Linked DNA regions of Homo sapiens: all the other regions are linked to region 1. Evidence: promoter capture Hi-C in 16 types of primary human blood cells and fetal thymus (Javierre and others, 2016). All regions are on one chromosome and are shown on one strand. The core of a region is centred on a gene start or on the middle of the fragment in contact, and the rest is flanking DNA. Distances in the headings are between cores, read along the strand shown.

Region 1 (3,781 bases), core at 904-3,403:
AACTTGGGTAGTTTCGTTATCACTTCTAACCATCTGGTCAGTTGGTTTAATTCTACAGAGCCAGAATCCTATTCAAGCTGCCTGCAATCAGAGTGTACCTTATCATGGGGATTTCCAGGGGCCCATCTATATAACATGAATGGTCACACTCCAATGTCTGAGTAACACGGAATCCCCCTGGGTTGGCAGAGCCCCTGTCTAAGAGCTTTTGGGCTAGGAACGATGATGGTGCAGGGAGTATGAGAGAGGGTTGAGTGTTGCTTTCCAGCCCTAACTCGGTCATTTTAACTGGAGTTTGAGTCAACAGGACAGAATTGCTTAATGGTAGCAACAGACAGGGTTCAGAGTCTTGGTGAAGGTGGTGGAGGTGGGAGGCTGGGGAGCCGGCTGAGAGTGGGAAGGCTCCTCTAAGCAAGAAATGAGCTTAAATCATGGGGAGTCTTATTTAACAAAGAAGTCAGCCGCTTAAGGTCTTCCAGAGACTTCTGTTTCATTTTTGTTTCAGAGAAAGAATATTCCAATGCCAGGCAGACAATTCTAGATGAATTGTGGTTAAATTAAATGTACAAGGAAGTTTCGTTTTCTGCATTCTTTGTTTTTCCAGCCCAAGAATTGTTAGATGCTGGAAATGGCTAGTGGTTGGTTTCCTCTGAACCATGTCCAGGCTCTGTAGAGAGGAGGGTGAGAATGGTCTCACGCACCTGCCCCCCCCGCCCCCCTTTTACATAGGGGCTGTGATTACCAGCCCAAGAAATGAGTGTTGGGATGGCGACCCGACATCAGGGGAGGTCCTAAATCCTACTCAGCTTCAGTTTCTCCTCTCCCCATCATGTTTCCCGCATTCACTTCCCACCCCCCGCCTCCCTCAGGGCCTGCAGAACCCGGCTTGGTCTCTGTGCGGCTAGAGCGAGAGCCCCCACTGGCAGGGTGACAAAAGCCCCTGAGGGCCACCGCGGCGCGTGAGCGCCTGGGAAAAGCCGGGGCGGTGCTGGCCTACGGGGTTGAGAAATGGAGGGGCGAGTGTCAGGACCGCGGAGCCGGTTGCTCCCGGCTGGCACAGAAAGTCCTCCTCCTGGCCATCCAACTCGCTGATCCTCAGAGCAAGGGTTTCCCAAAGAACTCTGTGCCATTTCCAGGAAGACGAGGCAAGAGCGGAGATTGTGGCGCCAGCACGCCCAGTATCGAAACGCACAGCAGGGGTGCCGGGTGTGGGGGGGGGGCGCTGAGGACAGAGACATCGGGGCGCAGAAGACAGTCGCTTGGGGGACTTGGCCAGCGGCTTTTGGGCACGGCCTATGCAGTGGTTTTTTCTCTCCAAACCTAGACAAACTGTCCTTTCTGTCCCGAGGTGGGGGACGGGGACGGATCCTAGATCGTTCAGCGTCTAGGGAGAGAAGCCCCTCTTTCTCCGCTCTGCGCCCGCCGCCTGCCTCTGGCAGGCTCGGATCTCCGGGTGCGCTCCCGCAGGAGCCCCAGCTGGCATCTCACGGCCTCGCTCCCCTCGCGCCAGGTCTCTTTTGTAGGGGGCTGGGAGAGAAGTTGTCACCCGTCGCAGCTACCTGAAATCTCGGGCTAAAGGGCACACGCCACGCACACGGGCATGAGGCTGCGAGGACACGTCCGTTCCAGCACACTCTACCCACAGCCCCCTTACTCAGGCAAGGGTACCCGTTGTCGTTCATTCCTACTACAATCACCCCAAAAGGCACAAGAGCGGAGAATCACGCACCGGGACCTAAGCTCAGGCACTCGGATGGGCACACCACCATCAGCGCAGATGCACACAGGTGCCCAAGTGCGCTTCTCGCTCCCTCCATCTCTCTTATCACACACACACACACACACACACACACACACACACACACACCCCTCACCTTTGCTTTTCCGCTGCAATCCGCTAGCTCCGGTCTCCGACACCCAGCGGCTGTCCCCGAGCCAGCTGGGCGCCGGGGCGCGCAGCAGCTTGGCTAGCGCCTGGCGCCGGACGTTTGGGGTTCCTGGCTCCTCGACCCTCTTGTGCCGGCTCCCGCTAGCCCCTCGCACGTAGAGAGCTCCCCTCGCCCGCAGACCCCCGGCGCCAAGCCTCAGACTGGGGCTCTGGGCGCTGGTGGTCTTGCGAGCGCGCGCGCATGGGTGGCTGCGCCGCTGGGACTGGCCCAGCCAGCCCGGGCCCCTCGGCACATTTCCCCACGCCCCCCTCCCGCTACGTCACAGCGGCTTCGCTCCGCCCCCCCAACCCCTCCTCCCGGGTCCTGCAGAAGGACAGGGGTGAGACCGGCTGAAACGCCTGCGGGTGGCCGCAGGCAGAGCTTACAGACAGCCGGGGAGCGGGGAGAGAGGGGACCCGCCTGCGGGGGCGTAAAAGGTTAAGCGTTTTCGGTCTCCTCAAGACTCATGGCAAGGACAAGCGCTATTTTCCCTCTGATTTCACAGAGTCGATTCCCTTCCACCCATATATTCTAGGCAGCTGGAGTGGCGGCCGGGGTGACCCAGACTTATACCGGGACCTCTGTGATTTCCTTAGCCAAACAAGTTAGCAAAGCTGTGTTTACCGTGGGCCAGCCCCGGGCGCAGGGCGCAGGGCCAGGCTAAGAGTAGGGAGAAAAAGGGCTCAGGGGATAGCGCTTCTCCATGCAGTTCCCAATGAGCGCAGGGAGTGTAAACCCGCACCTGGAGTCCAAGATTCAGTCCTAGGAGCCATCAGAGGGCCAGTGGACGTCGACTGGTCCCAGCTGTCCCTGCGTCCCACAGCTTGGAGGTGCAGCGGCCATACAGGTGGTCCCCTTGCTGTAGCCACGTCAGTCAGCACCTGCTGGTCTGACCCAGCACAGTCTCTCCTACATGCTGTGAGGGAGCAAAGGGGAGCAGGCAAGAAGTGGGAGTCGCATGGAGTTGCAGCTGTTTATTTTTGACTGTGATGATTCAGCCTCTTTTCCAATAGTTTAATAAGTCATAATCAATCCTGCAGCCTCCCCTTCCTCACCCTCCTCCAAGTACATAGGTATACACACACACACACACACACACACACACACACACCATCCTCAGTACAGTTTTAGAGGATGTGAAAACAGAAAGCAAACCCCAACTAGCTTTCTCTGTGAGCTGAGCTGCCTTGATTTGTCCATCCTATTATCTGATTTCCAATTCACCAGGGAAAAGTAAAAGTCCAGAAGCTGTGTGGCAGGTGGGGTGAGCCTTAGAGATAGATGAGTGACATGGAAAAGCAACCACCAGGTACAGCAGCAGCCAGCTCTCTCTTCTATCTGGGCCAAGCTGTATCTTGGGGTACCCACTGTGAGATGGGGATCAGGAGTTTCCATCTCTCTCTGAGACGTTGGTCATGATAGGGCTTAAATCTTGGCATCCTGGAGCTCAGGGTGAGATGGAAATTGAGCTGCAATTGCCTTAAGTTCCAGGAGTCAATCTGGGAGCCAGCATCTCTTTTAGACATGTGTATGCAAGTGGAAGGGCTGGGGTGGCTAGCTCACTGGAAGAGGGCTGTGTCTGCTCACCGTCAGTGGGAAGAGGGAGAGGCAGAGAGGTAATAGTAATATCAGGAGGGCATCGTGGAATTGTGCTCAGGGGAACTCGGCATCCTCTGGCCACACAGTTGCTACAATGCCTGTTGCCACCTCCAGTTTAAAACCAGTAATCTGACTGGTTTCCAGGAAAAGAAGGAAGAGCCAGGAAGTGCCCACTCTGCCCTCAAATTCCTTTCCTAAAAGTTCTCAAACTGTTAATACCAGATTTACGTTTCATTAAAAAAAATAATAACTGG
Region 2 (3,781 bases), core at 794-3,293, 240 kb after region 1:
TGAAATGAATGAAGCCTACCTGTGGTTTTGTCAGGGTCCAAAGATCCTTGGTGATGAAAACTCTTGCTCGGTTCCCAGAGGCACGCACTTCCCTTTGTTTGTATCACCTCTATCTAGAAGCCTTTTCAATCTTGCTCTAATGCTTGAGGTACGGCCAGGGAGGTTCAGGCTGTGAGAGTCTATTGACGTAGACTCAAAGCAGGAGAGTGAAGGAGAGAATCAACTATCAGGGCCCTGGGAACCTGGAAATTCAATTTTTTTTTCCTTCAAAGCCACAGCCTACACTTCCTGGTTGTAAGATTTCAGTCTCCACTTTTTCCCACCCACTGCTCTGTTTTCTTCCATTCAAATTCTCATGTCTTCCTTACCTTCTTAATATGACATTTTGGAATTATTTTCTCTTTTCAGAGCTTGGACTAAATGAAGAATTCCTGATGGTCCCTTTGTTTTCTTGTTTGCTGGCAGGTGGGATAGAATCAGGATTGGTACTACCAGGATTCATGGTTTTCTTTCCTCTTTCTTTGGTACAGAACTTACGTGTTCTTTTTTTCATTAGTTCATTTGTTCATTCATACTTCATGGAGCCAACTGCTCTCCTTGGCTGAATCCAATTAGTGAACTTGGTCTCTGCCTTCACTAAGCCCAGGAAGAGACAGACATGTAAAACCAACAATTACACAGTAATTACAAATAGTCATCCTGCTATTTTGGATACTTGTTTTCTTTTATAGTGTCCAGAGGGTGGTTACAGTTGTCTAGAAAAGAATCCAATCGTTAGGCCTGGGATCCTCCTCTTTGTAGGAATTTTATCTTTTTTTTTGGAGCAATCAGTGTTATTTGAGCACATCAAATTCAGCCTTATTGAGAGTGAGATGGTTTCTTCCTTTATTAACCCTTTATTAACCCATGTACTTTGGACTGTGCTATATGGCTCAGGATGATACTACAAATGTTCCCTTTTCATGAATATTTCCTGTGTGTGTGACCTTGACTGTTGAATGTGGGCTTTCCAGTGTGTGTGTGTGTAGTGTGTGTGTGTATGTGTGTGTGTGTGTATACATTTCCTTCTCAATAGAACTGATTATTTTTGCATGTAAGAGATGAAATCACCTATTGATTTCACAAACCATCTGAGCCCTGTGCTCTTTTTTCCTGAAATTCTATGGGAAAATGAAAGGTAATTATGCATTGGAAGCACACACTAATAACATGCTTGTGGGTGGGGAGGCGTGATTGCAACATGGAATTGGCATTCCTGCTGGTCCTTGTCTTTGAATTTTCGCTACTGAAATATTTGAGATACTCCAGGTAAGCCTTATAATCACCGGGAGTTTTTTGTTTTAAAGCAGCATCAGTGTTTCTGAAACTCATGGGATGGCCTTCCATTCTACTGAACATTGGCAAGGTCCTTTTTAGAATATGTGTTGAATTTCATATACCTGAAGGCACAACAACAGGCTTGGAAATGCTTCAGTGAACACTGGTTCAAATCCAGGGCTGGGACTGGGCGCAGTGACTCATGCCTGTAATCCCAGCACTTTGGGAGGCCAAGGTGCGTGGATCACTTGAGAGGAGGAATTCAAGAGCAGCCTGGCCAACATGGCGAAACCCCATTTTTTTTTTATCTCTACCAAAAATAAAAATAAAAGTTAGCTGGGCATGGTGGTGTGCGCCTGTAGTCCCACCTACTCGGGAGGCTGAGGCAGGAGAACTGCTTGCACCCAGGAGGTGGAGGTTGCTGTGAGCTAAGATCACACCACTGCACTCCAGCCTGGGCGACAGAGGGAGACTCTGTCTCAGTAAATAAATAAAACAAATCCAGGACTGGGCAACCGGACATTGTCATCTGTAAGAGGCATTTTCTTTCACAGCTCTGTGTCTGGTGCTGTTCAAATCAGGGTAGTGGTCTCTTTTATTCAGTAATTCCCGTGCAAGGTCACGTGGGGCATTTATCTGTGAACAGAAGACTTTGAGTCTGCTTCTCACCTCAGCTTGATCCCCAGGTGTCCCCCTGGGGTCAGGAGCAGAAAGGGCCACTAAGGCCTACCAGTGCCTGTGAGCTCCATTCTGAGGTGCTCGGGAATCCCTTTTTGGGGTCAAAGATAACAACTAATTAAAACGTAATAAAGCTGGTATGTGAACAAACACGGCAGAACTCATCTGGCAAACGAGATTGGGCTCCCTGGAAATGGTCAACTTGGAATGATGGCATTATTCAAAAGACTTATGGAAGTCTCTTAGAAGGCTTCTCAGGGCTGGTTTATAATCAAGTTTAAAAACAAAGGCAATCTTATGTTTTTCTGGATGGACATCATTTTAGCAACAACAGCAACATCCCCAGAAAAAATATCTTCCCCCAAAACATTCAAAGCAATTACTCCGAAGTCAGAGGAGCCTCCAGTCATTTTTCCCTGAGGGGCAAAAAGGACTTCACAAGACAAACACAATCCCTGATATTGCATTTTCAGACATTTTCTCATGTCCATTTGGCCTTTGTGGCTTTAGCTGACTTTCTTTTGGTCTCTGGAGCCAACAAGGTTAGGTGAGAGGCTACAGTAAGAATGCAGTGAGAAGAGAGATGAGAACAAACTCACTCTCTACATATTTGTCATTCAAAGCATGGCTGGTTAAAAGGAAATTATGATTTGATTTTTTAAAATTTCATTGTTAATACTTTCACTGTTAGATGGCTCACAAAGATGATGGAATTTACTCAAAAGTTGAAGAAGCATTTATATGGAACCAATTGAGCTCTATGTCTCCTTCCCAGGAAAGATGAGGATTTAAAAGCCTGAGGGCTCACATGGGACCCCAGGCATATTCCTTGCATTAGATTGTGTATTGCTAAGAGTTTAAGCATTGATTTCAGTTGTCTGGGTGGAACAGGCTGCTTAAGTCAGCTTTGCCTCACAGCAAGGAAACCTCAAATCTCAGTGGTTTGCCATCCTGAAGGTTTATTTTGCTTCCAAATAACATGCAGGCTGCAGGTTGGCTGTATCTCTGTCACATTGTTTTCTCCTTCTGGATTCCAGGCTGAAACAGCAGCCCCTGTGGCCATGTGCAATGTCATGGTGGAGGGGAAGAATTAGAGAATTGGTGGAAACTCATGACGTCCTTGAAGAATTCTGCTTGGATGTGGAGTGTTCACATCCATTCACATTCTGTTGCTTAACAAATCATATGGCAAAGTCTGACATTGTACAGGGAAGTATGCTTGGCCAATAGGCAGGTACTGCAATTCCAGGTGGGGACATAAACATCTACTAAGGGGAGGGAGACATGAATAATTGTGAATAGAGTAGGCCTTCTGCATCCGTGGTGAGGAACACACAGATATGAAGAGCTGGCTCAAGGGACTTGATCAGCAGATCTTGGTATCTGTGGGAGGGAGGAGGTATCCCTACGGATACCAAGGGATGACTGTATAATACAGTCTGCTACAGTCTTCCCTCCTGGTCATAAATAATCATCTTATATATCATTTTGTATATTTATATACGACATAAATTCATTTCTGACTCATGGAAGATACCTAAAAATTCGCATGTAATCATGGAATCAGGTGTGAATTTCAGGATCTCATGAGATTCTATCAGCAGGTCTGGATTTAGTTGCTGTTCATCTAGAGAGCTGTGAACCAAAATAAGTGACCTGGTCCACATGTCCGTCGTGGAAGAACAGGAATAGGCCAACCCCAGTGAGCACTTGTATTTCAAAAGAGAAAGAAGCGCATCCACATGGCCATCCTGAAATTCCACTGGACAGCATGAGAGGCCCACCT
Region 3 (3,781 bases), core at 543-3,042, 220 kb after region 1:
ATTTTTCATGCTGAGTTCTGAACACAAGGCCACAGGCCTTTTCTGTCTATTTTCACTAACATGACTGCGCTGGGCTCCTGGGTTCCCCTTTGAAGACCTTATGATCCTGATTGTGAGTCTTCTCTAGGGTATAAAAGTTGGCCAGACTTTATCTGATTTTTCTATCTTCAGGGCCATGGGCTGGTGGGGTCGGGGGAAGGTGGTACAGTGAATTCAGTGCCTGTCAGTCAAAAAAGGTAAACATTGGCAAGCCCTTGGATGGACATTTTCCAATGGAGTCACAGCCGGGACGGGGTCAGGGGAGTTGGCTCTGCAGGACAGCCTCTGGGTACTGCTGGGTCTTCTTGGCCAACCCAGAGTTAAGTGGTAGCGGAGTGAGGTGTGTGGGAGGGAGATGTAACCCAGTCCCCCTGCTCAAGAACACTAGGCACAGCCTGTTACCGGGTTACCAAGCAACCCTTGTAACCGTTGCTAGCTGTTCAGCTGCAAAAGCAAATGCAGCTCTTGGGGAAGCACAGAGATGATCTCCCAGCCATCTCTTGAAAGGTCGCTGTTCTTCTCACCTGGACACACCTGTGGGTGTCAGGCACCTGAGGACTCCAAAACTGATAATGGCTATTTGATAACTGGCTTCATGCAGATGGAGCCTGAATATGCATTATTTGTACCATCTGGATTTGCCCTTAAGCTTGCTGTAAATGGAGCAAGGAGATGGGTTTAATGGGTATTTAGTGAATAACATTAGCCTTTAAAACATCATATTGGTGCTGCTGTTGTAATGTCCCATAATTGGTTCGACCAGAGGAAGAACTAGAAAGGCCACACTCTGGGAGAGGAGTTCAGCTGCTCTGAGGAGCAGCAGCAGTGACGGCAGCCTGAGCTGGGAAAAGCATTTATGAGATACTTTCCTATTTAGGTCTTAGTGTGCAATGTTTTCTGATATCAGCTATTCTCAAGGCTGGGGATATTTTGGGACTTAGGTAGGCCAGAAGAAGTTCCTTTAAATCTATCAGTCTCTCTTTCTTTCATTCTCTCTCCCATCCATCCATCCATCCATCCATCCATCTCCAATTAGCTTTCTTTTAATTAAAAATATAATGACATCGGTTAAAAGTAATTTTTCTTCCACCTTCAAATCCCTTATGGTCTAGTCCCCCCATCTCAGACACAAACATCGTTTCTAGTTTCTTGTGCATCCTTTCAGAATTATCATGTTTCTATAATCACACCTGACCCATTGTTCTGTATCATATGTTTTTGCACTTAACGGTACCCTTGGGTGTTTTTTTCCTGAGGTGCTCATAGATCCATCCCATTCTTGTTATTGGCCATGATGCTACCTAATTAGCCCTCTCTGGATGCCCATGGGGTTAATTCTGATGCTTTGCTATTGCAAAGAATGTGGCACAGAGCATTTTAGTATCTACATCTCTGTGGACAGTTATATTGTTGAGTAAATTCTAGAAATGAGGCCAGGAGTTCTTTATGTCTGGGCTCCATGCATGAGTACCAAAGGACTCACGAGCCTCTTGCATTTTATGCAAAGTCTGTGTGTGTGTGTATGTGTGTGTGTGTGTTTGAAAGGCAAGGGACTATAAGTTATATTTCATCACACCCCAGATGGCTGCATACACCCAGTGTTGTTCAAGATCTTGGGCTTCTCTGTCTCAGTTGTCCCCACTCAGCTGTCAAGTTGAGTTTTTTTTCTTTTCTTCATAGCATCCTCTGTAGGCTAAAGAGAAGGTAGTTAAAAGTGAATCAGTTGATTCTCTTACTAATTGTTAATTTCCCCATTTAAATATGCAGTATGTTCTGGGGGAGGAAGTTGAAATGTTACCAAGCATCAGTGGGCTTGCTGCCCGATGCACACAGAGGCCAATACCGTGGCACTGGCTTTTGAGAGAAGAACAGCTTTATTGGGAGTCAAGTCAACTGGCAGGGAGACAGGAGGGAATGCCCAAATCTGTCTCCCTGAGCTGGGGGTTGGGTTGGGTTTTATAAGCATAAGTAATGAGGTGTGATCTGATTGGATCTTGCAATGAGGTGACGTTAGGAGGCATTATCTGATTGGATCCTGTCATGGGGTGATGCCAGAGTTCAATCTCATTGGATCCTGGATCCTGCCATGTGGTGTCTGCTTCTTAATTCAGTCCCACTCCTCTGTCCCAGCACTTAGGTTCCCCCTGTGGTTGTACACTTGGTTCATCTGAGCATGCTTAGGTTACATGACCTGAGGGTCCATGGCAACTGAAAAGCAGCTCACAGCTTTGTTACATAAAAGTTGAACCAGATTGGTCTGATGCAGTTATAGATACTCTTCACTAGTGAACTTTGTCATCACTATTATTATTGGTGAATTTCATCGGTCTATTAGCATAGGAGAATTGCCTATCATTTTGTGTATCTGTGGAAAGACCAGGAGAAGGCATTATTTTCTGGTAGAGCAAGAGGTGGATTTACTTTAGGAGATTATTCAGTTGTGAGGTGCCATCTGTGCATTTTCTGTAAATCTTTCTGAAGTGTTGGGGGAAAAAGTGAATGGGTACTCAAGTCAGGGAAGCGTAAGCCGTACGACACTCAGGTAAGAAACAGATTTTTCTCTTAATGCCCTATTCTTATAGGAAAATTCACTTGGCAATAAGAATTCTGCCTACACAGCCTTGCAGATCTGATGCAATTATCAAAGCCATGTTTTGCAAAATGAAACTGATGCCAAGCTCGTGTCAAGTGGATTATAGATTGTAGAACTGCAGTCACTGGCCATTAGCTGAGTGTCTTTGTTTTCTACTCTAAAATCTTGAATTCCTTATTGGTTCTGCTTCTGATGTGCTGCGTGGCACTCTTCCTGTGGAAATGGTCTTGCAGGAGATGATTTTCCTTTCTAGCTCAAGCTTCTCAAGTGCCCAACCCCGGATCAGCAACCCCAGGGCTTGTCCTGTTCGGGAACACGATGGAGTTCAGTTGCTCTTTGATCCCCTTCTTCCACCTCAAGACACTCTCTCTTCTCCAGGTATCACAGTGTCCTCTTTCAGTCTTGTATTTGGAATCATCCCTTTCTCCCATTTTCCCTGTTAAACATCCTCCCTTAGGTGCCTTTGGAAAAAGATTTGATGAACTGAAGAACAGGGAGGTATTGGCCCATTGACTTCATGTTTTACTACTGCTTACGTGTTTGTCTGTTGACTGGGAACGGTTTCTCTAGTTCAACAATGAACCCAATAGGTGGGTTTTCACACTGGCTAGGCTTTGGAGGATTGCATTTTTTTAGACATAATGTGTGGGGCTTAGGGAGGGCAGCCAGGCAGTGTGGGATGCAATCTCTTCTCTGAAGCAGCTGGTTCTCGCTATAAGCTCAGCCACGTACATTCCACTCCCAAGTTTCCTTGGCGCTAAAACTGCTTGGAATAGCCTAAGCCTACGGAAGCAAAGATGACTTATTTAAACAGCTTCATGGTTCCTATTACCTTTCTTTTTCTGTATCTTCTAACTTTCCATGTCTTCCTGAAGGACATGTTCCTTTTGTCACTGATATTTCCAGTCAAATTTAGTGATCTTAAATTTGATCGAGAGTGAGGTGTAACTCCTAGGAGAAATTCTGAGTGTTTATAACTAGGTTTCCGAAATAATGTGTTTGGGGAAGTCTCTGAGATGTTATTAATTTTGACTTTTTATTGGTAAGATCTCTAAAAATGAAAGAGTATTTTCACAACAGTTCATGTAGATATAATTTCTTGGCATGTGGTTTTGGCAATCAGAGTTTTATTTATTTATTTTTTTCCCT
Region 4 (3,781 bases), core at 857-3,356, 200 kb after region 1:
TTTGGGAGGCTGAGGCGGGTGGACCACCTGAGGGCAGGAGTTCGAGACCGGCCTCACCAATGTGATGAAACCCCGTCTCTACTAAAAATACAAAACTTAGCCAGGTGTGGTGGCGTGTGCCTGTAGTCCCAGCTACTTGGGAAGCTGAGACAGGAGAATTGCATGAACTCGGGAGGCAGAGGTTACAGTGAGCCAAGGTCGGGCCACTGTACTCCAGCCTGGGCAACAGAGCAAGACTTCATCTCAGAAAAAAAAAATTAGCAAAAAACCCCCAAAACCCAAGGGCAGCCTCTAGGAACAGAGAGAGGTCACCAGCCTGAAGCCAGCAAGAAAATAGGGACCTGAATCCTTCTTAGTTGCAAGAAACGTAATTCTTACAACAGCCAATATGCTTGGAAGAGGACCCTGAGCCTCAGAGGAGATCAAAGCCCCAGCCACTGTCTTCATTTCAGCCTGTGGGACTCTGAGCAGAGGACCTAGCTGCACCGATCCCTGGACTCTGGCCCCATGGAAACGGTGGTGAAAAAGGAGTGTTGTTTGAGGCCTCTGGACTTGTGGTAATTCTTCATGCAGCAGTGACAATCTTATCCAGGCATGGTGTATGTCTCAATTTGGTTATTTGCTTTGGAATTTAGGCTTAGAAAAGAGAGAGAAGGGAAGATGCCAGTCTCCACATACCCACAGCAGGAAGCAGAGAAATGTTTCCCTTAGAAGCAAGCTGCTTCAGTACTTTCTCAGCTCTCAAGTCCTCATCAAGCCCAGATAAGTTTAATAATGAATTCTGCTCCAAGTTGAGTGATGCCATGTATAAAGCCCCGTTAAAGAAACATTGAACACGTTCTTCAAAGCCACAGCTTTTCTTTTGAAGTAAGTTAGGTACCATTTGCATACTATTTCTTTCTTTTTTTTCTTATTATACTTTAAGTTCTAGGGTACATGTGCACAATGTGCAGGTTTGATACATAGGTATACATGTGCCATGGTGGTTTGCTGCACCCATCAACTCATCATTTACATTAGGTATTTCTTTTAATATTATCCCTCCCCCAGCCCCCCACCTCCTGACAGGCCCCAGTGTGTGATGTTCCCCGCCCCGTGTCCAAGTGATCTCATTGTTCAATTCCCACCTATGAGTGAGAACATGCGGTGTTTGGTTTTCTGTCCTTGTGATAGTTTGCTGAGAGTGATGGTTTCCAGCTTCATCCATGTCCCTGCAAAGGACATGAACTCATCCTTTTTTATGGCTGCATAGTATTCCATGGTGTATATGTGCCACATTTTTTTAATCCAGTCTGTCATTGATGGACATTTGGGTTGGTTCCAAGTCTTTGCTATTGTGAACAGTGCTGCAATAAACATACGTGTGCATGTGTCTTTATAGTAAAATGATTTATAATCCTTTGGGTCTATACCCAGTAATGGGATTGCTGGGTCAAATGGTATTTCTGGTCTAGATCCTTGAGGAATCACCACACTTTCTCCACGATGGTTGAACTAATTTACAATCCCACCAACAGTGTAAAAGTGTTCCTATTTCTCCACGTCCTCTCCAGCATCTTTGTTTCCTGACTTTTAATGATCGCCATTCTAACTGATGTGAGAATAGCAAGCATATTTCTTTCCAGCCTTATCCATTGTCCTAATACTCGGAGGTCTCACCAGAAGGTGATGAGAACAGGCCTCCTGAGCCATCAGTCCACTCTGTTTGGTGGCTTGTGACTGTCTTAGGCTCGCTCTTTCATGCTGGCTCTTTTGTGCACACACTCTCTCTCACCCTCGTGTTCCTGGAGTCAGGAAAAATCATTTTATGGTTGCCAAAGCTATGAAAAATGTTGATAAGCCATACTTTAACCTTTTTTCCTCAGCAGTGCTGAGATAAAGATCTCTTTTCCAGGATTGGTAATAGAAGCGCTGGTGTACTTACTTTTATTTTTATAAATTGTGGTGAAGAAAAAGGAAGGGTTTTTTTTTTGTTGTTTGTTTGTTTTTTGAGACAAGGTCTCACTATGTTGCTTGGCAGGAGTACAGTGGTGCGATCATGGCTCACTGCAGCCTTCAGCTGTTGGGCCCAAGCGATCCTCCTGCCTCCCTAGTAGCTGGGACCACAGAGATATGCCACTATACCCGCTTTTTAATTTAATTAAATTTAATTTAATTTTTTACTTTTATTTTTTGTAGAGATGGGGTCTCGCCATGTTCAGGTTGGTCTCAAACTCGTGGGGTCAAGGGATTCTCCTGCCTCAGCCTCCCAAAGTGCTGGGATTACAGGCGTGAACCACCACATCCAGCCTGAGGGCTGGGTTTTATAGAAAAATTACCTTCTTGGTTTTTGTAATCTCCAGCTGGTATGACTACAAGAGGCTATTTATCTATCTATCTGTCAATCTATCTACCTACCTACCTACCTACCTACCTATGTATACAAGAGGCTACCTATCCATCCATCTATCTATGATAAATGCTACTGAATCATTTTTATCTATTTATCTATCTATCTATGATGAATGCTACTGAATCATTTTTTAATGATGGTAAACAAAGACATTTATTTGTGAAAGTGATAGACATTTTGAGGCCAAGGGTTCCAGTGCCTTTTCCCCTGGATAAATATGACCATGCTGCTGTGTAAGGAGAAATATTTTGCTGAGTATTCTGCTCATTGAATACAGAATAGAATTGCATTAAACACTGTCCCCTAAAAGTTCATCTGCTGAGTATGAATAGGCTTTATATGTGGCCAAATAAGTATGGGAAATATAGGATTAAACAAAACCCTGTTCTTTACTGCGGGATTTCTCAGAATCTTTATCTGCTTATGAAATAGACCTCACCAAACATATTTGTCTGCAGAATCTTTCCCTTGGAGCATCTCACGAAGCAGGGAACTCTGGGAAATTGTGGTTTAAGACAGAATGAGGAATTAAGGAGATTTTGTCCATGTACAGAGGTACACATGGACTCTTGGCTCCTACTTTGACCACTGGAGGCACAGAGAGTGGTGACTTAAATAGTTTTTGTGATTTTTGAGCTTAGAAGAATCATTGTTAGGTTCTCAATATTAGTATATATTTAAAAAAATTTTTTTCCATAGGTTATTGGGGTACAGGTGGTATTTGGTTACATGAGTAAGTTCTTTAGTGGTGGTTTGTGAGACTTTGGTGCACCCATCACCCGAGCAGTATACAGCACCCTGTTTGTAGTCTTTTATCCCTCCTCCCTCTGCCACCCTTCCCCCCAAGTTCCCAAAGTCCGTTGTATCATCCTTATGCCTTTGTGTCCTTATAGCTTAGCTCCCACATATCAGTGAGAACATATGATGTTTGGTTTTCCATTCTTGAGTTACTTCACTTAGAATAATAGTCACCAATCTCATCCAGGTCACTGCGAATGCTGTTAATTCAATCATTCTTATGGCTGAGTGTAGTATTCGATCATATATATATATATATATATATATATATATATATATATATACACACACACACACATACATACACCAGTTTCTTTGTCCACTCATTGACTGATGGGCATTTGGGTTGATTCCATGATTTTGCAGTTGTAAATTGTGCTGCTACAAACATGCATGTGCAAGTATCTTTTTCATGTGATGACCTCTTTTCCTCTGGCTAGATACCCAGTAGTAGGATTGCTGGATCAAATGGTATTTGTACTTTTAATTCTTTAAGGAATCCCCACACTATTTTCCATAGTAGTTGTACTAGTTTACATTTCCAGCAGCATTGTAGAAGTGTTCTCTGATCACCACATCTATGCAAACATC
Region 5 (3,781 bases), core at 890-3,389, 190 kb after region 1:
TACTAAATCAGAAGATGTATTTACGTATTTGCTTCTGGATTTTTGTAGTCCTAAGGTGAATAATAAACTAGCCATTTAGCCAGCCATATGTGTGTATTGAGTGCTTGAAGTGTGACTAGTCCAGATTGAGATGGGCTATAAATAAAAAATACACAGTGGATTTTGAAGACTTACTAAAAATATATATGTATAAAATATCTCATTACCAATTTTTATATTGCTTACCTTATTGAAGTGAAACTATTTTGGATATATTTGGATAAAATAAAATATGTTATTACAATTAATTTCACCTGTTTCCTTCCCCTTGGTGATTGTGCCTACCAGAAAATTTAATGTTATATTTGTAGCTCACATTCTATTTTTTTTTTTTTTTTGAGATGGAGTCTCCCTCTGTCACCCAGGCTGGAATGCAGTGGCATGATCTCAGCTCACTATAACCTCTGCCTTCTAGGTTCAAGTAATTCTCTGCCTCAGCCTCCATAGTGGCTGGGATTATAGGCACCCACCATCATGCCTGGCTAATTTTTGTATTTTTAGTAGAGACGGGGTTTCACCATCTTGGCCAGGCTGGTCTCAAACTCCTGACCTCTTTGATCCACCCGCCTCAGCCTCCCAAAGTGTCGGGATTACAGGCATGAGCCACCGTGCCCAGCCTCACATTCTATTTTTATTATATGGTGCCGCTTTAATCTTTTCAGCTCTGCCTCTTCAGGTACTATTCTGTTTCAGTTGCTGCAACTTCACGTCTTATCATCTATTCGTCTTCTGTATTACTTGTATTACGTTCCTTTTCAAAAGTTTCTTGGTTATTCTTACAGCATATTTTCCCATGTGAACTTTAGCATCAGCTTGCGAATTTCAAGAACATCGTCTAGGTATTTTTTTTTACAAGCTTTGTTTCAAATTTCTACATTAACGTAGGCAGAAATGACAGGTTTATGACGATGAGCGTTTCTGCCTAAGAACAAAGCTCACCACTCCATCTATCCAGGCTACTCATCGCGTCTCCCAGTAGCATTTTAAGTTTTCTTCATAAGGACTTTTCATGTTTAGGGTTGAATGTATTCCTGGGTATTTCATTTCCTTTTATGAGTATTACAGACGGGGTCTCCTATTTCATGACATATTCCATCTGGCCGTTGTTTTTGCATAGAAAAGCTATTGATTTTGTCTTGAGCCACCACTAATTTTGTCTTGAGCCACCAAACAAAATACCTTTTTTTGTTAATAATCGTTCTTTAGATGATTCTTTGAGATTTGTACATGTACAGTAATATCTTCATAAATAAGCACCTGGGTCCCGCTATTGTTGGTGGGAGTTATAGATGCAAATAGGATGTCATGGTCTTAACAGAGCAGGGTGGCTGGGGACAGGAAGGGTGGCTGTCCCAGCTGGAGAGCTGGTGTAGGAATCAGTGGATCCAGCAGCAAGTCGTGGGAGAAGGATGCACCATTTTGGGGAGGTCATGGGAAGTGGGTGTGCTGCTTTGGGGAGCAAGTCATGGGAGGGGTGCTTGCCGCTTTGGGGAGCAGGTTATGGGAGGAGGGCATGCTGCTTTGCCTCCATCTACCTTGGGCAGTAGCATAGGTTTGAGACTCTGCCAGCTGCATCATCTGAGGTCTTGGTTTTCCAGCATGCTACCTGTTATAGGCAAGATTTGTTTTGGGGTCCTGTGTTGGAGGGAGGTGGGTTAGTGTGAGCTCTGCAGAGCAGCCTCCTTGCAGCTCAGCTGGGTAGGGACAAGGCAGGGGCCTGAACTGGCTCGATTTTCTGTGGCGCTTCACACATCAGGACCCAAATTTTCCCTTTTCTAGAAATTCTCAAGTTGCCCTCTCCTGAGCTTGTACTGATTTACACTTTCACCAGTAATGTTTGGGAATGTCTCTATCCGTCCCTCATCCCATTGCCTGCTCTGCTTCTCAAGACAGGTGAAGACAGACAGTATTTCCATGGATCAGATGTGCTCTCGGAGTCCAGGTTCCTCTCAGCATAACTGGAGTGAGAATTATCTGTCTCACTTACATAGCCCCTGTATTAGTCTGTTTTCAGACCATTATAAAGAACTGCCCAAGACTGGGTAATTTATAAAGGAAGGAGGTTTAATTGACTCACAGTTCTGCGTGGCTGGGGAGCCCTCAGGAAAGTTACAATAATGGCGGAAGGTGAAGGGGAAAAAGTAGCTTCTTCACAAGGCGGCAGGAAGGAGAAGTGGCAAGCGAAGGGGGAGGAGCCCCTTATAAAACCATCAGATCTCGTGAGAACTCACTCACTATCACGAGAACAGCATGGGGGAAACTGCCCCCATGATTCAGTTGCCTCCGCGTGGTCTCTCCCTTGACACGTGGTGATTATGGGGTTTACAATTCAAGATGAGATTTGGGTGGAGACACAAAACCTAACCATGTCAGCCCCAGAGCAAGGGCCTTCTTTTTTATCTTTGTAAAATTATGTTTCTGGCTAGTCAGTCACCTCATTGAAAGCAAGACCCAGACCTCATCCTTCTTTGTATCCCAGGGCTGAAGGCAGGGCCTTACCAGAGTTGGCGTGCCCTAAGTGTTCAATGATAACAGAGATGATTTGTTGTTTCCTTTCGTTCTCATGAACAAGTGCTGTTGGCACCTTTCCAAAAAGGTCTTGTGGACCCATCCTGTCCACTCCTTTCCACCCCAGCCTAAGGCATTACTGTCTCTGTCCCAGAACCTGGCCTCCTGACTGGTCCCCCTTACTCCCTCACCTCCACTTCCATGCTCCCCACAGTCTCCCCACCCCCTTCTTAGAAGCTCCCCAAGCCCTGTCCCACCTCCCGGCCTTTGCATCTGCTATTCCTTTTCTCTGAAACAGAGTTCCCGAAGCTCTGTGCGTGGCTGCCTCAGTGCAAATGTCTCCTCCCAAGCTCCTCCCTGACCCCCCACAATGTGCGTGGCTTTCTCTGTTTATTTCCTTCCTAGAACTTGTCAGCAACCTTCCTTATCCAGTTTGTTCGTTTGTATATTTTTTACTTCTTTATCATCGGTTTCCCCACCACAATGTAGGCTCCTTGAGGACAGGGACTTTGTTAGGCTTGTTCTTGGCCGTGTCGCCAACACCAGCACAGTGACTCACAGGGAACAATGCTCGGTAAATATCTGATGAAGGGAGGGAGGGAGCAAGGGAGGAAAGAAGGGAAAGAGGAAGGAAGGAAGGAAGAGGAAGAGGAAGGCAGGGAACGCCTAAGGGCAGGGAAGAGGGCTGTGGTTTGGGGTTTACAAATGGGGCCCAGACGACAGCCCAGATTCTCACTAGAACCTCCCCGTACTTCCCCTGCGTTCGCAGGCTGGAGGACGGCCTGGAAGATTCTCAACGACCACCCTGGCTAGGAATCCAATGATAGAGAAGCTTGCTCGGAGACTGACATTTTGCTGGTTTTTCTCTGGTGACCCGGTGACTCACTGCTGGTTGCTATTCCTGTGGCTTTGTGGGTGGGAGAGGCTCCTGGGAACAGGTGCCGATGCAGTCGGTCTCCTGGGCACCTTCGCTCTCCCAGGCAGCTGGTGGCTGGCCGTGCTCTCCAGGCCACCTCGGTACTTTACTGCTTTATTGAATAGGAAGCATTCATTCACTTTGGGAGCCGTTACCCTTTGGATAATATCACTACCGTTTCCCCAAACTCATTGTTGCTGTGTGGGGGTGTTTCTGTTCCAGCCCTTTGTTTGTGTGTTTTATGGAAGGTGCTAGCACTTCATGGTTCTTTCCCACATGTCCCTAGTCCCTCTCTCTGCTCTTTGCTCTTTCACTTTC
Region 6 (3,781 bases), core at 779-3,278, 140 kb after region 1:
CCTGTAGTCCCAGCTACTTGGGAGGCTGAGGCAGGAGAATCACTTGAACCCAGGAGACAGAGGTTGCAGTGAGCCGAGATCACACCACTGCACTCCAGCCTGGGCAAGAGTGAGACACTGCCTCAAAAACACAAAACAAACAAACAACAACAAAAAAAACCAGCACCATTTTGATTGGACACCTTTTCAACTCTTGGGCTCAAGCAGTCCTCCTACCTTGGAATCCCACAGTGTTGGGATTACAGGCATTAACCATGGCACCTGGCCCATCTTCAGTTTAAAACGTTGATTTTCTACTGGCCCTATCTCTAAATACAGTCACATTATAAAGTATAGGGGGTTAGAGCTTTGATACATGGATTTTGGGGGGCACAATTCAGCCCAGGGTAACATCTTTTTTTTTTTTTAGGCACTGTGATTGAAAGATGGTAGAGTGGCAGGAGCTCAGCTGTTAGTTGGGCACTGGGCGTTCTGAACCAGTGGTCGCTTCCCTGACACTGGAACAGTGGGCTGGCTGGCTATGCCCTGAGGGGCATGGCAGGCTAAGGAATACAAATACACAGTACTAATTAATACTTCAGTTTCTAAGGGAGGAAACCTGTGAGCTTGCAGTAATGGAAGCGGTGCCTGATAATTCTGGGCTTGGGGAGGGTTGAGAAAGCTTATTGTTCAGAAGGGTTCACTGGCAAAGGAAAACTGAGTTTTTTTTTTTCTTTGTGAAACAGGATATTTTAATTCACAGGGTGGGGTTGCTCTTGACACACTGAAGCCACAGGCCCTTCATAGTGTGAAGTTTGGAGAGAGCTGGCATTCAGGCTGTCCTGGGTACCAAATGTATTCCCAGGGGCAACTGGAAGCCATGGTTAGCATTGTTTCTTCCACCTTTGGAGGCATTCCACAGCCTCCCGTGACTTTTAGGAAGATGTTCAGATGTTGTTTTGGGTCCTGCTGGCATGCAGACAGGCTGAAAAGGGGATGAAGGCAATTTCCTAGTATGGTGGGCTGGCCGATTCTTTTTTTTTTTTTTTTTTTTTTTTTAAGATGGAGTTTTGCTCTTGTCTCCCAGGCTGGAGTGCAATGGCGGGATCTTGGCTCACTGCATCCTTCGCCTCCCAGGTTCAAGCGATTCTCCTGCCTCAGCCTCCTGGGTAGCTGGTATTATAGGTGTGCACCACCATGCCCAGCTAGTTTTTGTATTTTTAGTAGAGACCAGGTTTCGCCATGTTGGCCAGGCTGGTCTCGAACTCCTGACCTCAGGTGATTTGCCCGCCTTGGCCCCTCAAAGTGCTGGGATTACTGGCATGAGCCACTGCACTCGGCCTGCTGGCTGATTCTTAGAGAAGACAGCAGTTTTGACCATTCTGTGGATGCCTGCAAGTGCGCATTTAGGTGATGGGAATGCATGCCATGAACTCTCTCTTTCTTGCCATATGCTCTCTTGGTTTTCTAGGGCAGCTGGTGAATACTGTTCTATGCATTTGTATGCCCATGTGTGTTAGCTGTGTACACAGTCCTTGCTCATTGAGGCTGCAGGAAAAATATCTGTGGCTTTGCAGTCAGTGGCACAGAGCATTTCAAGCGTGTCTGCTCTCTGGCTTTTGACCAGGGTTCAGAAACCCACCTCTGTTGTCGATATATATTCCCGGAGGACCCCGTGGGTCTGGCACGAACACGCGCGCACACACACACGCACTGCGTGGGCTGGCTTGCTGAGGGGAACTCCTTAAGCACGGAATGGTTCTTGTTCTTGGTCTAAGAGTGGTGGGGAGTCTTGAGTGCAGATAGGCTTGGTTGGAACCTTCTAGGACTTAGATTTCCTTCTCCGTGGGTAGAACACCTTTTCATTTGTTAGGCCATAAAGTTGTAACTGGATACCTGTCCTCTCTTGCTGTCTCTTGAGCTCAGCCACATGTTTATGAAAAATGCCCAGAAGCCACCGTGGAAGCATATTGAACCAGTCGATAGCCGAGGGTGGCAAAGATGATTATGAGTATGGAAGGGGAAAGAGGCTGGGAGCGGTGGCTCACGTTGGTAATCCCAGCACTTTGGGAGGCAGAGCTGGGCAGGAATTCATGACCAGCCTGGCCAACATGGTGAAACCCCGTCTGTACTAAAAATACAAAAGTTAGCCGGGCATGGTGGTGCCTGCTTGTAATCCCAGCTACTTGAGTAGGGCTGAGGCACAAGAATTGCTTGAACCCAGGAGGCAGAGGTTGTAGTGAGCCGAGATTGCACCACTACACTCCAGCCTGGGTGACAGAGCAAGACTATGTCTTAAAAAAAAAAAGAAAGAAAGAAAGAGTAAGGGAACTGAGTATGCATCTAATCTTCACTGGATCCCTTCTTCTTGGCAAAGGTGACTGGGACCGTGTCTGTCTTGCTTATAACCGTACCCCTAGCTGGGTGCTCCATAGAGCAGGTCCTGGTCATGCCTGCGTGGTCCATCTCCTCTGGGATTGATCGTGGTGCTGGTAGTGTTGATGCAGGTCCCCAGGCTCAGGAACCAAAGTTGGAGAGTTAGATAAACAGTTCTGGCTGGTGTCAGGGAAGAAATGAGAAGTGAAGTTTGGGGGTAGAGATGTAGTTTGGCCAATTCATGGGAGGGAGGGAGTTCTGTGAAAAGCACTGGAAAGCCAAAGCATTGTTCTCTCCGGGCTGGGCGTGGTGGCTCATGCCTGTAATCTCAGCACTTTGGGAAGCCAAGGCAGGTAGATCACAAGGTCAGGAGTTCGAGACCAGACTGGCCAATATGGTAAAACCCTGTCTCTACTAAAAGTACAAAAATTAGCCGGGTGTGGTGGCACGCGCCTGTAGCCCCAGCTACTCGGGAGGCTGGGGCAGGAGAATTGCTTGAACCCAGGAGGCGGAGGTTGCAGTAAGCCAAGATTGCACCACTGACTCCAGCCTGGGTGATAGAGTGAGACTCCGTCTCAAAAAAAAAAAAAAAAAAAAAGAAAGAAACAAAAAGACCCCCCAAAAACCCAAAAGCATTGTTCTCTCTCACATGGTCCCCTGGGGAGGTCATGAACAGTATAAGCTGAAGCAGAAGTTCTTTTCAGATTTCACTTGGTTTCCTTTAGAAATACTGCTCCATGTAAAAGTCAAGGCAGACATCAGCTAAGTGGGTTCCTGCTATCTAAATTGGCTTGGGCTGCCATAAAAAAATACTGAAGTCTGGCTTAAAGAACAGAAAAATATCAAGGTGCTGGCAGATTCAGTTCCTGGTGAGGGCTCTCTTTCTGTCTTGCAGATGGCCACCTTCTTGTGTTCTCACATGGTAGAGAGAATGAGAGAGGGCGAGCTCTCTGATGTCTCTTCTTACAAGGACACTAATCCTATTATGAGGGTCCCATCCTCATGACTTCATGTAACCCTAATTACCTCCAAAAGCTTCCCATCCCACTGGGGCTAGTGCTCCAACAAATGAATTTTTTTCGAGGGGACACAAATATTCTGTTTGTAACACCTGATATAAAGAATGCGAGGACATTCTGTCCCGTCATCTTCAGTACATAAAGGGCTCTGAATATGGTGAAAATTTTCCAAACATAACTCGAAATGGACACTTTTCTAGATAGAAGGAGAAGGAGTGTGATTCTTCAGTTTTATTCTCAATGAAATTAAGTTATAATACTTTTTGTCCTGAAGTCTACTTTGTCCTGATATTAATATAGTTACTTCTACCCCAGTTTCATTTTGTTAGTGTTTCCTTGGTATATCTTCTTCCATTTCTGTACCTTTACCTGAGTCTTTATATTTAATAAACAACATAACATTGTGT

Evidence for each region. The method cuts DNA at HindIII sites, captures the fragments that hold promoters and counts their contacts. A CHiCAGO score of 5 or more calls a contact.
Region 2: a fragment that was not itself captured here is called in contact with the fragment with the promoter of SSTR2 in region 1 in 3 of 17 cell types (M2 macrophages, M0 macrophages and M1 macrophages); the score reaches 6.6 in M2 macrophages.
Region 3: a contact is called between a fragment that was not itself captured here and the fragment with the promoter of SSTR2 in region 1, in 4 of 17 cell types (M1 macrophages, M0 macrophages, M2 macrophages and 1 more). The highest score is 9.3, in M1 macrophages.
Region 4: a fragment that was not itself captured here is called in contact with the fragment with the promoter of SSTR2 in region 1 in 1 of 17 cell types (M0 macrophages); the score reaches 5.0 in M0 macrophages.
Region 5: a contact is called between a fragment that was not itself captured here and the fragment with the promoter of SSTR2 in region 1, in 7 of 17 cell types (M0 macrophages, M2 macrophages, monocytes and 4 more). The highest score is 22.7, in M0 macrophages.
Region 6: a fragment that was not itself captured here is called in contact with the fragment with the promoter of SSTR2 in region 1 in 3 of 17 cell types (M0 macrophages, monocytes and M2 macrophages); the score reaches 8.0 in M0 macrophages.

What each region holds. Positions count from the first base shown.
Region 1 is chr17:73,163,382-73,167,162 of GRCh38, reverse strand. SSTR2 (somatostatin receptor 2) reads right to left here and starts at 2,153. Exons shown (of 2, transcript NM_001050.3): 1 at 1,875-2,153. It also overlaps the pseudogene POLR3KP2. RefSeq lists a silencer at 1,899-2,238 and an enhancer at 2,779-3,028. The HindIII fragment of the contact is 15,303 bases long and covers 1-3,781 here.
Region 2 is chr17:72,925,082-72,928,862 of GRCh38, reverse strand. The region is part of intron 5 of SLC39A11 (solute carrier family 39 member 11); the gene reads left to right. Among named protein-coding and RNA genes, the nearest start is that of SLC39A11, 170 kb to the left of the region's middle. The HindIII fragment of the contact is 6,640 bases long and covers 1-3,781 here.
Region 3 is chr17:72,942,329-72,946,109 of GRCh38, reverse strand. The region is part of intron 5 of SLC39A11 (solute carrier family 39 member 11); the gene reads left to right. Among named protein-coding and RNA genes, the nearest start is that of SLC39A11, 150 kb to the left of the region's middle. The HindIII fragment of the contact is 2,203 bases long and covers 691-2,893 here.
Region 4 is chr17:72,959,019-72,962,799 of GRCh38, reverse strand. The region is part of intron 4 of SLC39A11 (solute carrier family 39 member 11); the gene reads left to right. Among named protein-coding and RNA genes, the nearest start is that of SLC39A11, 130 kb to the left of the region's middle. The HindIII fragment of the contact is 9,360 bases long and covers 1-3,781 here.
Region 5 is chr17:72,977,619-72,981,399 of GRCh38, reverse strand. The region is part of intron 4 of SLC39A11 (solute carrier family 39 member 11); the gene reads left to right. Among named protein-coding and RNA genes, the nearest start is that of SLC39A11, 110 kb to the left of the region's middle. RefSeq lists an enhancer at 2,996-3,496. The HindIII fragment of the contact is 2,484 bases long and covers 898-3,381 here.
Region 6 is chr17:73,019,853-73,023,633 of GRCh38, reverse strand. All of the region lies in intron 4 of SLC39A11 (solute carrier family 39 member 11), which reads left to right. Among named protein-coding and RNA genes, the nearest start is that of SLC39A11, 71 kb to the left of the region's middle. The HindIII fragment of the contact is 2,729 bases long and covers 664-3,392 here.